Regions from separate parts of the Homo sapiens genome. Here region 1 is linked to region 2. The links are contacts of gene promoters, found by promoter capture Hi-C in blood cells and fetal thymus (Javierre and others, 2016). All regions are on one chromosome and are shown on one strand. The core of a region is centred on a gene start or on the middle of the fragment in contact, and the rest is flanking DNA. Distances in the headings are between cores, read along the strand shown. Region 1 overlaps WARS2 (tryptophanyl tRNA synthetase 2, mitochondrial). Region 2 holds the start of CSDE1 (cold shock domain containing E1).

The links. The method cuts DNA at HindIII sites, captures the fragments that hold promoters and counts their contacts. A CHiCAGO score of 5 or more calls a contact.
Region 1: a fragment that was not itself captured here is called in contact with the fragment with the promoter of CSDE1 in region 2 in 2 of 17 cell types (non-activated CD4 T cells and monocytes); the score reaches 6.2 in non-activated CD4 T cells.

Annotation. Positions count from the first base shown.
Region 1 is chr1:119,135,930-119,139,554 of GRCh38, forward strand. All of the region lies in intron 1 of WARS2 (tryptophanyl tRNA synthetase 2, mitochondrial), which reads right to left. Among named protein-coding and RNA genes, the nearest start is that of WARS2-AS1, 2.7 kb to the right of the region's middle. The HindIII fragment of the contact is 1,048 bases long and covers 1,283-2,330 here.
Region 2 is chr1:114,755,873-114,759,550 of GRCh38, forward strand. It overlaps CSDE1 (cold shock domain containing E1), which reads right to left and starts at 2,112. Exons shown (of 20, transcript NM_001007553.3): 1 at 2,053-2,112. RefSeq lists enhancers at 1,509-1,828, 1,664-2,657, 2,029-2,318. The HindIII fragment of the contact is 3,696 bases long and covers 1-3,496 here.

The DNA of each region.
Region 1 (3,625 bases), core at 557-3,056, 4.4 Mb after region 2:
CCAGCTAATTTTTTGAATTTTTTATAGAGACAAGGTCTCACTATGTTGCCCAGGTTGGTCTGAAATTCCTAAGCTCAAGAAATACACCTGCTTCGGCCTCCCAAAGTGCTGGGATTACAGGCGTCAGCCACCGTGCTTGGCCAATAGATGTTTAAATAAATAAATAAATAAATTTGTATAAAAAATATATATTTGTCTGTGTGTGTGTGTGTGTGTACATATAGTTGTAGAAGCTTCTGCAGACAGCTCTTCTGTAACTTGCAGTCATTCGAAAGATATACTGAGCAAGAATTTGGAGGTCAGCAGCATCACTCTCTTCAGCATTTCCAGGCCATGGCTGCCGTACTATCTGCTAGCATAAATCCTCAGCATTCAGCTACAGTTCTTCCTTCCTCTATATTTTCAACAGTTACTATCAGTAGTTTTCATTAGCTCCTCAAAGCTATATTGCAAAGAATTTAAATATTATTATCATTTTAATAAACTAGGTCAGTTCACAAAAGCAACCAACCACAAAAGCACTTTAAACAAATAAGACTCACCGACTGAGATTAAAAGGAGCTTTAGAGTGGATCCACGCAACACCTTTTTTTGCCATGAGAGATGAAGTAACCTCATCAAACTGGCAGAGTAATCAACTAGCAAAATTCCCAGATGATTGTAGTAGCTCTTGAACACATACCATGCTGATTAGCTCATGTTGCATGTTGCATGAACAATACATGGCAGAGAAAAGCTAAAAGTCAGTGGGAACACTATGCCAATTTAATGTCATTAACATTCCAGAAACCTACAATAACAAATACTAATTGCAAAATATGGAATGAAATGCCTACATTAAATCTTACGATCCTAATTCCACCATTGTGTGACATTGGGCAAGTTACTTAACCAAAGACTATTTCTTCACGTTTGAAATAAGGTGGCAATACCTGCCTCAAGGCCTTGTTATGAACAATATCTCTTCGTGGTATTCTTGCCAAAAATCCATAACCTCAGTCTAAACACAAAGAAAAATCAGACAAACCTAAACTGAGAGACATTCTACAAAATAACTGACTGGTTCTCTTCAAAAGTGCCAAGGTCATGAAGGAGAAAATGTATGCATTAGAAGAGACATGAAAGCTAAATGCATTGTGGGACCCTGGATTTGATCTTGGACTAAGGAAAGGGACAGTGAAAAAACTAGTGAAATTTGAACTAAGTCTGTAGCTAAATTACTATTATTGTACCAATATTAATTTCTTGATTTTGATAACTGTATTATGATTATTCAAGACAAAGCTTGGTGAAGGGTATACAGAAATTCTCTGTACTAATTTTGCAACTCTGTAAATCTAAAATTATTTTAAAATTAAAAAAATTTAAATCTTGTGAGAATTAAATACAGGGTCAAAAATTTTAAACCACGCTTTTTTTCTTTTTAGGCGTAATTCTTCATCTAATGGCTATACTTAGCGATAGTTAACAGCAAGAACATTATGTGAATACTGGCCAAACCCAGACTAGGAACCGCTAATAATGAAACATGTTCAACTGCAATAAAATGTGGACACTTTATCATACTTCAACTGAATAACAAATACTTTTGCAAAAATCTACTAACCATCAATATTTCACTCTTTGCACAATACAATCATGACTTAGTGCTTAAAGAAGTATGGATTCTGTGTTTGGCCAATGATGACAGGCTTAAATTTACCTAATACCATCAACATTTAAACAGAACATGTCAGATCTTAACTCCTCTGACTTTATGACTACGCTCATCTTGTCAGATTTCAACAGTTTTCTGTCAGGCAACACCTGGCAAAATAAACCGTTTTCATATAAATTGTAGACATCCCATAATGAGTATGGAGTGATGTGCTGTTATTCCTGTTTCTCCCTGTTTTATTTTCAACTTGAGTTTACATCTGCATCCTCTGAGATAAGCAAAGATGCCCTATGCCAACATTTTTACCCAAGATTTTGTTTTAAAAAAAGAAAACACTAAAAACCATTAAAACAACTTAGGAATCACAACACTTTATTAGTTAGAGTTTCTAACATAGCACTGTTATGGCTCATTCACTTTTGCTTTACACCTAAGGGAGTAAGTGCACAGCCAAGGCTAATAAAAACTAACTTGGCTATTTCTTGGTTTTTGATGGAACCATTCATATGATAAATATACATTTTTTCCCATTATACTATACTCTTGCAAAATAATTTTTTTCTACAAAGGTTATGAGATATCATAAAAATGTCTAATGCATCTGGTTTAAGAATCCAATGCCTCTTTCACATATTTCTGCATCTGTTCACAAAATCCCTTTGACTTCAAAGGAAGCTTTTCAAGAGAAAAAGAAGATACATACAGGAAAAGTGGCCATAAATTTTTAGTAGTCCTTTTCTAAGGCCATTTTAATAACAGCATTGTGGGACAAGTATCTTCCTCAGAATCCTAAAATATCACAAATGATATTAATGACTAAAGATCTGTATAAAGATTTATGATTTCAAAACGTTTTTCTGGTTATTAAAAAGTGTGTGTCTTCAATTTAGACATGTGAAAAATATGTAATGCTATAAAAGGAAACAAATAACTTTTAACCCACTATTTAGGAAGGCCAAAGCAAAATAAAAAAGTTAAAAATGTTTGTTCCCTTCCAGGCTTTTTTTCTATGTATACGTTTATATAAACACTTATATATAAACATAACATCGTAATAACACTATGAACACAATTTTGTATCTTTTCTCAGTCTTTCAAAAAACCACATTAATCTTTCAAACCATCATTTTCAATGACTGAAATTATATGTAGATTTATACTTTAAAAAAATACTCTCACATTTAATACTTATTCTACTCAAAGCTAAATTAAAGGTTTAGAAACATTCATCGGTACTGGAAATTCTACATCTTGAAACAATCTAGATTAATAATTAACTTTAATAGCCCTATTCATAAATGCCACTGAAACAATAGTAGAGGTTTAAGAAATTTTTTCTTTAGCATTTATAATGACTTAGTGTCTTAAACTTCCCTGGGCAGTCATTAGCAGGCTGCAGTTTGTCTTTTTTTTCTCTCTCTCTTTGATTCTCTATTCTCAAGACATCTTCAATTCTTTAGTTTGGAATAAGGGGAAGTTTGGGTCTACGGCTTAGCTACTTTGATAGCATAGGTGTTAATGTGCTATAAATTATAAATAATCATCTCATTCTAGTTCTGCAGAATCAAACCCTCAAATTTCAAGGAGAGGAATTTTTGATAAATTTATCTAATTTTGAATTGTCTTACCTAACATTGCTGCTGAAATTTAAGGTGACATTTGAATAGTTGTTTGCTGACAAGCAGCTTTCCGGTATATATTAATATATTAGCTTATAAGAATTTTGTGAGGCTCACATTAATAAAAAACGGAAGTTCAAAAAATTTATGACATGACTAGAAAAATAAGTTGAACTTAAATTTTGGTTTTCATAATTACTCTCATTGGCTTTGTTTTGGCTTCATAATCATGGAACTATAGATTTTCCAGAGGTTGAAAGAACATTAACGTGTCAATCAGTCCAGCTCTCTTCCTCCACTCAATATGAGCAAAAAAAGAAGAAAAGTCCCAGAGAGATTGTGACTTGTC
Region 2 (3,678 bases), core at 862-3,361:
GTCGAAAGTATGGCTCTCACAACAGTTTCAATAGACTTAGTGCCACTGAACTGTACAATGAAAAACACTGGAACACTAAATTTCATGTTATGAATGCTCCAGCATAATTTGATATTTTAGCATTTTGTTTGTTTAAAACAAAAATCGATGGCCCTACACGATGTGTCTTCAGGTGGGGAGAAGGGAAAATAAGGGTAGAGGGTAAAGCCAGACTGCACGTCAGCTTTCACGCTTTCAATTTTGATTTGCTAGGACTTTACCAGATTTTCACCCACACTCGCTAAAGGTCACACTTAAGTCAGTACTTACAAAAAAAGAAAACCTATCTTCTGTGCCTCAAATACTTTAGTTTTCAACTCAGCTGCTATAAATAATCATCTCGATGGTAAACATCCAGAACAGCTGCAAAACCAAACTATTACCTTCTCTTTTATTTTAGTCCCAGGGCTAAAACGAAACAAAAAGAAGGCCAAATATTTATCTAAGTTTTATGACTCAGGTATATCCCTACTGAAGTATATAAAGCCCCTCCTTACCCACACCAAGGATATCCATTATTGGTTAGTACCAAAAGAAAACCAAGGTATGTATTATAGTGCTCCTCAATGCAATATCAAGAATGTTTGCCTTTAGTTACTCAAAATGAAAATTACTCAGCATTTTAGTATAGAGTAGCTTATATCTGTGGGCTATAATTTGAAACCTACATTCTAAAAAAGTAGGTTAGTAGCAGTGGCTGAGAACTGCCAGTTCATACCAGCCTGATGAAAATTTAAGCCTCTCAAAAAGATTTAACTACCACAGTGCCTTTGAGCATTCTCCCTCTCCGCCCTGTCTCCCAACTGTTTAAAGAGCGCCATATTCTTTTACTCATTTAAGGTGCAAAACACGAAAATTAACTTGCCCAACAACGTTCAGATATTCTTTGCAGATTCAAGCCTGTTTCAGGGAGCGTTCTCTGCTTCACCTGTGAGTTAAGCAAGACGGCCGCCATCTGGGTGTTTCTAAGGGAAAACCTTAAAGCAAAAGAACCTTGGCACTAAGATTTCGTATTGATAAAATAGCATGGCAAAAATTTGAAGCTGTCTCCGACGGGGGAACTCTAAAACATTCTACATAGAATGACGAAGCCAGGCCGTTCATTGCACAATGTGGGTGGGCCAGGCGCTGGCACCATGAGAACTACAGGAGGTGGAAGGGAGGACACTACTGAGCTTTCAGGGCGCACGCCCATTCCCCAAGATAGAGGGGTGGGAGCCACGTGCCTAAAAGATTAGGGACTGGTTCCCTTTCTCAAGACGCCGAAGGGGAGACAATGAGGGGAAGGTTGGGTGCTGAGACCCTGCTCTAGGTGACTGGAGTAACGATGTCAATTCCGCCACACTACTGTGCCAGATGTGGCTGGGGAAAGGTGTCTTTAAACACTTCCCCTAAGATATCTAGATGGAGCAGGGTCTCAGTCTATACACAAAGAAGGCGCCACTGCCGCACTGCGCTCTGGTACTGGTAGTCAGATTCCCAAGCAGGTAACGGCCAGGAAACTACAGGGTCCAGAGTCAAAGTAGGCCCCTCTTCTCGGTCTCAGGCTCTTCCAACCTCACACAAAGGACCGCGCCACCACCCCCTCGCCCCGCCCGCCGGGACATGTAGTTCCCGTTTCCCCAGACAAGCCGCAGATGGGGAAGCAGCCAGACTACAGATCCCAGCAGCCTCCGCGCCCGAGCCCCGCACCCTCTGCCTCCATCTTGGCTGCTGTCGGAGCCTCCATTTTCGCTCCCTCCCCCCACTTTAGTCACCACCACCACTACCACCACGCGCAGCCGGCTGGCCTCAACTCCTCGTTTCAGCTCTGCGACCTGACATGAGGCCCAGGCAGTTGAACGGGAGACGTATGAAAAAGCCCAGGGCAGGGAATCGGGGTGCATTCTTCCCCACCTAGAGCTCTACGAGTGCCCACCTTGACTCAGAAGGCTTCTCGTTAGCCTTGGTCTTATTCTCAGCCCTTCCCCTGGGTTTCTGCTACCCCCAGTTGGACCCTGAGGTCGTACTCACCCCAACAGCTCAGCGCCCCCTCTCCAGCGCCGCCATAAGCAGCACGGCCCGGTACGTAGGAATAAATCTCGCTTCTCTCGCGAGAGTTGCGGGCTCCGGGCGCGTGCACGAGAAGGGGCGGAGTGAAGCGTACTCTCAACACGCTTGCGCAGCAGGGCTAAGTGACGCCAAGCAGTTTGCTGCACTTAACCACAACCAACATGGTGGCTGCATTACATTACATTCCTTCTTGGGTGTGCTGCGGGAAGCAATCTCGGTGTTTACTGACTCCTCCTGGACACTAGGGGTGGCGGGTGGCTTTAGGCGTCTCTAGTCTTCGAGCGTTTGAATACGTTTTAGCCCACAATAATGGGGTAAACCTTGAAGGCCAACAATTCTGATGGCATATTCAGGAGTCATAAAAAATGATTTATCTTTTCCCAGCAAAAATCCGGAAGGACCTCACACTCGTTTCTTCTTATAGTGCAAGCATTCTTTCTTACGTCTACTGTTTTAGAGGAATTTCATTAGTATAGAGTCAGCTTTGTAGCAAGGTAATTTAGAAATCTAAATGAGACCTTTGTTTTCCACGAAAAACATTGCAACAGATGCACAAGAGTGAGCAAGGCTGCATAATCACTAAACAAAATGAAACAAATTCAGTCAACTGACCTTTCAAGTTACGAAAGATATTCCTGTTGTGTCAGGTAATCAAAGAGGGTGGATCAGTAATTAAAAGGTTGAAATAAGAGCAAAGAGATGATTCATCCAATGGGGGAAGAAGGAAGGAGAAAAATGGGTAATTATGACCACAGGAAGTTCAATGGATTATCCCCTGCCAGACAGTAGAGCATGCTCCTCTGGTGAGAGGAATGCTTTTCCCAGATTCAATGCTTCTGTTTTCACAGATTCACTGGCTCTCTCACTTGACAGTATTGGATAAATAATGAGCAGCCAGTCTTCTGAGAACTCTCCTACCCACTTTTTGCTTACAACACATTTATTTGACATGTTGTATGTGTAACCACTGGGAAGTATACAGTTGTAAAGAAAATCGGATATAGACTTGTCCTCAAGGAACTTTTAGTCTAGCATCATTGATGATCACAAAAACAAATCTAAACATACACATTGGAATAAGTGCAATGAAGGAAAGACAACCTTCAATTCAACCTCTTGAATTCTAAGAGGAGGCCGTGTCCCATTTCTGTTCAAAAATTTCCTCACCACCTTTGTTGCTGGTGTCCAGTCCCATGTATAACACCTCAAAACTGCCTTTTTGCTCTCTTTGATGCCTTCCCACGCTTTCCTAAGCACAAATATTTGCTTCATTTTCAATGCTTTCATAGCTCACTCTATTGTAATTATTAGTTTTTACTAGGTAGTAATACTCTAGCACAGAGCTTATGAAATTCATCTTTGCATCCCTGGTTGTTGACAGTGCCCGCTCTCAACAACTCTCAAAAGCTTGTTGAATAAATAGCACTGGACAACAGTATGATAAGTTGTTAGAAATTGGAATATATTTCTGGGAAACTACAGAATGTAAATTTTTTTTTTTTTCAGATGGAGTTCACTCGTGTTGCCTAGGCTGGAGTGCAATGGCATGATCTCAGCTCACTGCAACCTCCGCCTCCCGGGTTCAAG